Linked DNA regions of Homo sapiens: region 1 is linked to region 2. Evidence: promoter capture Hi-C in human tissues and cell types (Jung and others, 2019). All regions are on one chromosome and are shown on one strand. Each heading gives the region's core, a stretch centred on a gene start or on the middle of the fragment in contact. The rest is flanking DNA. Distances are from core to core; before and after follow the strand shown.

Evidence for each region. The method cuts DNA at HindIII sites, captures the fragments that hold promoters and counts their contacts. A contact is called where the count stands out against the background at its distance.
Region 1: a contact is called between a fragment that was not itself captured here and the fragment with the promoter of MOCS1 in region 2, in 1 of the 25 tissues and cell types used here (mesendoderm cells).

The regions. Positions count from the first base shown.
Region 1 is chr6:40,243,400-40,246,919 of GRCh38, reverse strand. No RefSeq gene overlaps it. Among named protein-coding and RNA genes, the nearest start is that of LINC00951, 110 kb to the left of the region's middle. The HindIII fragment of the contact is 7,594 bases long and covers 1-3,520 here.
Region 2 is chr6:39,933,011-39,936,462 of GRCh38, reverse strand. It overlaps MOCS1 (molybdenum cofactor synthesis 1), which reads left to right and starts at 2,001. Exons shown (of 11, transcript NM_001358530.2): 1 at 2,001-2,168. The coding sequence starts at 2,046. LOC102723789 (a long non-coding RNA gene) reads right to left here and starts at 1,894. Exons shown (of 6, transcript XR_001744112.1): 1 at 1,820-1,894. The HindIII fragment of the contact is 11,059 bases long and covers 1-3,452 here.

The DNA.
Region 1 (3,520 bases), core at 940-3,439, 310 kb before region 2:
TGGCTAATTTTTGTATTTTATTAGAGACAGGGTTTCACCATGTTGGCCAGGCTGGTCTCGAACTCCTGACCTCAGGTGATCTGCCCGCCTCAGCCTCCCAAAATGCTGGGATTACAGGTGTGAGCCACCATGCCCAGCCTGTGCTTCCCTCTTATTAGGCTGCCTATGTGACACCTTCTGTTAGGAAGATGCAATCTCTGGAAATGTGTGCTGCATAGAACACCAGGTGAGGGTCTATGGAGGTTTCTGAAGCATTAGGGAAGAAATATCTCACCATTTTTTGTTCTCAAACAGTGATGCAATTGACATTTATACAAGGGACAGTCTATTCCCTGGCATGTGGATTGGCTTTTACCGCAAAATGTATAAAACAGGACAATGCGGATAGTCATTAGACCCCCGGTACATGTGTGCTCAGCACTCCACCAGGCACTTTACGGGTTTTATTTCATTTACTCTTCACTACAATTCTATAAAGTCAATATCATTAGTCCCATTTTACAGGTGAAAAAAATAGAGCTCAGGGAATACAAGCAACTGGTCTAGAGTCACATAGAGGCAGAGTTGGGATTTAAACCCAGGACTGTATATATTGTCTTGGGAGCATTAAATTTTTGAGTGGTTGAACATCAGCATTGTTCTAGATAACAAAAATGTCAGTATCTTGTGTTCAGTGTCCTCCCCTCCACAAACACACAGAAAAACATTATTCAACCAAATCTGCATATAATTGTCCAATTTTTTATGGCATGGAAATGAGGCTTATTGAGTCTACCTGTATAGGTCTCCACGTGTCCCTTCTGAGAGGAAAATGGGGGAGGTGTCAGATGATTGGCAACCTCCAAAGGGAATTTGAAAGAGGCCAGCAGTCTCCTTCTGATTTAGGAAGGCCTGCTGTGTGGGCACTACAGGTCAGCTTGCTCGCCCTCCATCCTGCCCTTCTTCTAGGCTGTCTTCTTGCACTTTAAGGGCTGGAAAGCTAAGAATTACATTCCTCAGACTTCTTTTTTTTTTTAATATACTTTAAGTTTTAGGGTACATGTGCCCATTGTGCAGGTTAGTTACATATGTATACATGTGCCATGCTGGTGTGCTGCACCCACTAACTCGTCATCTAGCATTAGGTATATCTCCTGATGCTATCCCTCCCCCCTCCCCCCACCCCACAACAGTCCCCAGAGTGTGATATTCCCCTTCCTGTGTCCATGTGATCTCATTGTTCAATTCCCACCTATGAGTGAGAATATGCGGTGTTTGGTTTTTTGTTCTTGCGATAGTTTACTGAGAATTATGATTTCCAATTTCATCCATGTCCCTACAAAGGACATGAACTCATCATTTTTTATGGTTGCATAGTATTCCATGGTGTATATGTGCCACATTTTCTTAATCCAGTCTATCATTGTTGGACATTTGGGTTGTTTCCAAGTCTTTGCTATTGTGAATAATGCCGCACCAGTTAGAATGGCAATCATTAAAAAGTCAGGAAACAACAGGTGCTGGAGAGGATGTGGAGAAATAGGAACACTTTTACACTGTTGGTGGGACTGTAAACTAGTTCAACCATTGTGGAAGTCAGTGTGGCAATTCCTCAGGGATCTAGAACTGGAAATACCATTTGACCCAGCCATCCCATTACTGGGTATATACCCAAAGGACTATAAATCATGCTGCTATAAAGACACATGCACACGTATGTTTATTGCGGCATTATTCCTCAGACTTCTTTGTAGTGATTTTTCTACGTATCTATTAAGCTCTCTAATGAAATGTTTTTACATAAGACTTGGGAGACAAAGTGAGGTAGAGGCCACCTTGCTGCTGCTTTTGATTATATTTCTGCTAGAAAGAGAGGTTGAGGAGATGTGGCTTTTATTTTTCCTCTGCAGCAGCTTCCCAGTGCCCGCTTTTTTTTGGGTGTGGAGAAGCAGTTGTAGTGGACACAGTTGCTGAAAATCACATTCCAGACCCACCCACCAGCTTTGAGAGCAGTAAAACAGACAGGCACAGGGCACAGCTGTGGGGTTGCTTTCCTGGATTCCTGAGCCCTGAATCATGGCTTAGTGTGATCTTAAACTCAACAGCTTAGAGGTGCCCTAGAAGGAGCAGCTCCATTGACAAGTCAGCTTTGCAGTGTTCCAAGGGGCATCCCTGGACCCAACCTGAAACCCATAGGGTTCTAGTCCTCCTAAAGATTTTTAGGCACCTAATTCCATGCCTCTAATATCTTTCCATTTGAAATACCTAGAGATGTTTTCCATTTCTTTCACAGAACTTGACTGATATATTTCCTTGACTCCCTGAGTATCCAACCGTCTTCAATACATGGAAAGGGAAAGGAAAACTCTTTCAGACAAGAACATCCACCCTACTTTAAGGGGCTGAGATTTGGTTCAGAAGCCCACTCAGTTGATTGCTTTGGCTCATTGATTTCTACAAAGTTATAGACTTCTTGTTCACAAATGAAAATGCTCTGTTTCATGAATGTGTTGGTTGATTTTGTTAGTAAGAATCCTGTTCAGTATCAGGGAAGCTTCAGACACTTAGATAGGTATTCCTTCTCCTACTGGGCAGTTCTGAGCTCTAGAAGGCTTTCTGTGGGAGCAGGGTGTTCCCAGGGAAAGTCTCAAGTCCTGCTTTCCAGCCCTGAAGATAACAGTGTGTTGCTTCTCCCCACTGAGCCGTCAAAAGCCATGACAGATATCTTTTATTCCCTGAGGTCCTAGGAGTGGTTTGTAGGTTACCCAAGGAAGATCTTGTTTGTCCCCAGGATGGGGAGGAGCAGTGAGGCCTGAGTGGTTGGATTCCCTGCCCAGGGATGGTCCCGTATGGATATGGCTGGCTGGTGTGAGGAGGGGGCATTTAACACAGGAATCCTGCACTTCAATCATGAGAAGAGTTACTGAGCATGGCAGCCAGCACCATTTCACAGAGGAGCAAAATAAAACTCAAAGAGGAGAAGGGACTATTCCAGGTCCCACCATGAGTCAGTGGGAGAATAATGACAACAGCCCAGAACTCCTGACTCCAAAATAATTGTTCTTCCTACCCCAGTACACCAACCACCCGTTTACCCAGAAAAGACAACAGACAGACATCACTTTTGGAGGGTGTGACTGGGGACATGGCTATCACTGAGGTAAAGCTGATATGTGAGTTAGCTGGCGAACTTCCCTGCCTCCATTTTAGGCAATGAGGTGCATCCATCAGTATCCTTACAGCAAACAGGTGGCACCCTGAAATTGGGTTGCTTGGGGAAAATTTAGTGAAGAGACAGTATAAGTCAGCATTCTCCAGAGAAACAACCAATAGAATAGCTAGCTAGCTAGATTGCTAGATAGATAGATAGATAGATAGATAGATAGATAGATAGATAGATAGATAGATAGGAAATTTACTATGGGAAGTGTCTCACATGATTATGAATGCTGAGAAGTCCCACAATCTGCCATCTGCAGGCTGAAGAACCAGGAAAGCTGGTGGGATAATTCAGTCAGAATCCGAAGGCCTGAGAATCAGG
Region 2 (3,452 bases), core at 752-3,251:
GAGGCTCTTTGAGCATGTGACAAAAAGCCACCATTCCCCAGGAAAAAAAAATACAGTATTATGCATTCAAGTTCAGGGGTCTACAGAACCCTCCAAATCAATCCATGGACTTGTCACATCAGAGCCCTACTGCAGGCTGTGAGCCCTTGAAAGTATTTCCTTATTCCCAGCCATTAGCAGAGGATTCGGCCCTGATGACACTTAATCACCATATGTTGACAGAAAGGGGCACTTTTTTGCTGAATACAAGTAAGAACTTTAATAGGTGGGGAAACATTTAAGTGGACCAGACAACATCAGGAAGCCAGAAAGTTTCCCAGCACTACAGGAGTCCAAGTAGATGTATGATAATATGGAGAGGATTTCAGCCTTCAAACAGAACTGAGTAAGCCTTAGGTCTTGCCTTGGAGACCCAAGTTCTATAAAAGATGACAGTAAAGCCCAAGTGAAGGGATGATCACATACAACTTGTATGAAGAGGGTGGAATCTAGAGAGGCTCCAAGGAGCTGGTGACATTCTTGGATCAAGTTCATATGTCAGATGGCTTCTTCCCTGAGGTTGAGTCCTCTCTAGAAGGCTCTTCAAGCCTCATACATACAAAAAAAAAAAAAGTTTTTATCCTTCTCTCCCCCATACCCAGTTTTCCTGATAAATCCAGACATATCTAAACTTAGCAGTGGACAGAGCTTGAACAGTCCTCAGTTGGTCTTCAGGCCCCTTGCAAACAGACCTCTGGCATACTTGTCTCATCAGTTTCAAACACACCCCAGATACACTTTCATCCCCTACAATATATTTTCTGAATTTTGAGTATCATTGTGAGAAATTCACATTGAATCTAAGGCTAAAATCATCTCAGCTTTTCTGACAGTCCCACTGCACTTGTAAAAGTCAGTTATATTCAGTTATTTTTTCCTCTCCCACTATTCGGTCAATTCTTCAAGATCAGGAGCTATATTCCCACTTCCTAAGCATGCACTTGGCAGCTGTATGTTCCAGCCGGTGTTTTATTCTTGCAATTCCACAGGGACAGGGTTTTGGATACAACAGGCTGGTTTGAGCATAATTATTCTTAGTACATAAGCTCATTATTGTGTGTGTTATCCAAAATCTTAAAGGACTACAGCACTCTGCTTTTTATAGAGAGGAAGAGGCACACCCCACCATTCCTAACACATACTGAATCTTGACTGAATGACTGTAGAAAGCAGATTGCCCTGGGTTTGAAACCCACTATCAGCTGTGTGACTTCGAGAAAATTACCTGGTCTCTCTAAGCCTCAATGTCCTCAGTTGCAAAAAGGACATTCTATTCATACCAGGATTGTTTTAAATAACATTTAGCATGGTGCTTGGTGTATAAGAAGCATTTCAAAAATGTTGTCCACTCATTCTGTGACTTCTCATATACTCTTGCCTTCTCCACGAAAAAAAAAAAAAAAAAAAAGATTGTTAATATCCTTTTGGGGCACAACTGGAGAAGTGTATCTTGAAAGACCTAACTGACCGTTTTACAACCACAATCTGCACTATGGTGCACTGAGTGATGTGAGTCATGCAAGTGTAGGCTAAATCTTTTTATTTAGAATGTTGATATTTCACGGACTTCTGAAAATTTATTACGATTTTTTGAAATATTACATTAAAAAATTACTTACTTTGATAACCGCAGTTTACCTGGCACCCTCTTAAATTTTGCATCCAAGGCAGTGCCTCATTCGTTTGGCCCTTGTCCTGTCCTGCCTACTGTCACACCACGACCTAAATCTGAGACTAGAGCAGCCAGAAAAACTGGAAGGAAAAGAACCCCGTTCCTTACCTGAGTTTACCCTTCTGCCCTAGAGCGCTACCCCGGCCCAGGAAAGTGGGCACAGGGAGCGTACTACAGCTCCCACAAGGCCACGCGGGACTGCGTCCTCGCCTATTGGCTGCGCGGGTCCCGCCCTCCCCCTGCCCCTCCCCGCCCTTGCTGGGATGACCCCGGGGGCGAGTGCCCGGCCAGTGTGCTCCCGAAGCGGGCTGCGGTTCCGCTCGTATCAGGCTTCATGGCGGCGCGGCCACTGTCCCGGATGCTGCGGCGGCTTCTGAGGTCCAGCGCCCGGAGCTGCAGCTCAGGGGCTCCGGTGACCCAGCCCTGCCCCGGGGAGTCCGCGCGAGCTGCCTCGGAGGTGAGCCCACCCCGCCTGCGTCCACAGCTTCCCGGGGCAGGAGTGGCCCCGGCACACTGCCCTTTTCCCCCAGTAGCTCCCGGCCTATCTGCTTGACCGCTTCTGGGAGGGACCCGTTGGCACTCCTCAGTGGAGCGATGTTCTCCAGATGGACCGCCCGGTCTCACCCGCTAGCCCAGCGGGAGAGGTTCCTGGGAGTCCCGCTTCAGAACCTCCCTGCCCCCCAGCCACGCCACCCCTTCTAGCCCTGAGCTTGGCCAGAAATTCGGGTAAGCAGAGGACTGGGACTTTGGGTCCAGTGAGGTGTCTTAGTACCTTTCAGCCTTGCCTTGCACCCACCCTCTTTCTTAAACATTTTCCCTCCCTATCCCAAGAGCTGAGAGATCAGGTGTCCCTGTGACACCTGCTTCATAGTGCGACTGACTAAACATGTCACCTCGGTGTCACCAACGATGAGTTGTTACTGTAGTCCCAGGGCTCTGTAACCCATCCTTTGCTGACTCTCCTTGTCTTTTTTATTAACCTTGGGAGGGTTCAGCCTTATCCTAGAGCAGAACAGGGCAGGACGTGGCTTCTTCCAGGTGAGAAATTAATTCCTCTGTCTTTAGGGTTTTGGGTAAGATCCCTCAGTCCTTGCCAGCACCCCTCAGAGTGTTTCAAGTCATTAAAAGTTTTAGGTTTTGGTTGTTCTTCTGCTCAGGTGGTTAGGGAATAATTTGGGGGGAAAAGTACCTCTTTTCATTTAGTGAAACCTCTTTTCGGTACCTATCTAGGCGTTTTTTTCCCCGTCTCCCAGAACTAGGCTTCCTGTCCTGGGATTCATAAGATCACTGCTCCCTCCTCCCCTATATTGCTCAATGACTTCCGCCAAATTTGCTTTCCCCAAATCTAAGCCCCTCTGGGATCCTCAGATAAGCAGGCCCATGGTTGGGAAGTGAAGACTTTTTAGTATCCTCAAACTCTGAACATCATTGAGGAAGAGATAGGAAAGCAAAGATGGCTGAGAGATCTTTAAAGAATTCAAGAAAAGGGACTTTTCTTCTCCAGCCCCCCACCCCCTAGTTTATTTTGTACTGGTCTTTCATGAGAGAACCTGTGTTGAGTGACTCACATGTGGAAGCATTTAGTCCTCACTAAGCCATGTGAGGTGAGTAGAGTTTGTATGTTCAGATGAGGGGGCTAATCTAAGTTAACTTTCCTCCAGTCGCAGAGCTGTAGAGGGCAGGAACTCAACTCTAATGCTTTTCCGTCCTCCCTGTGTGGAGGCCAGGGAGAGAGCCTGCT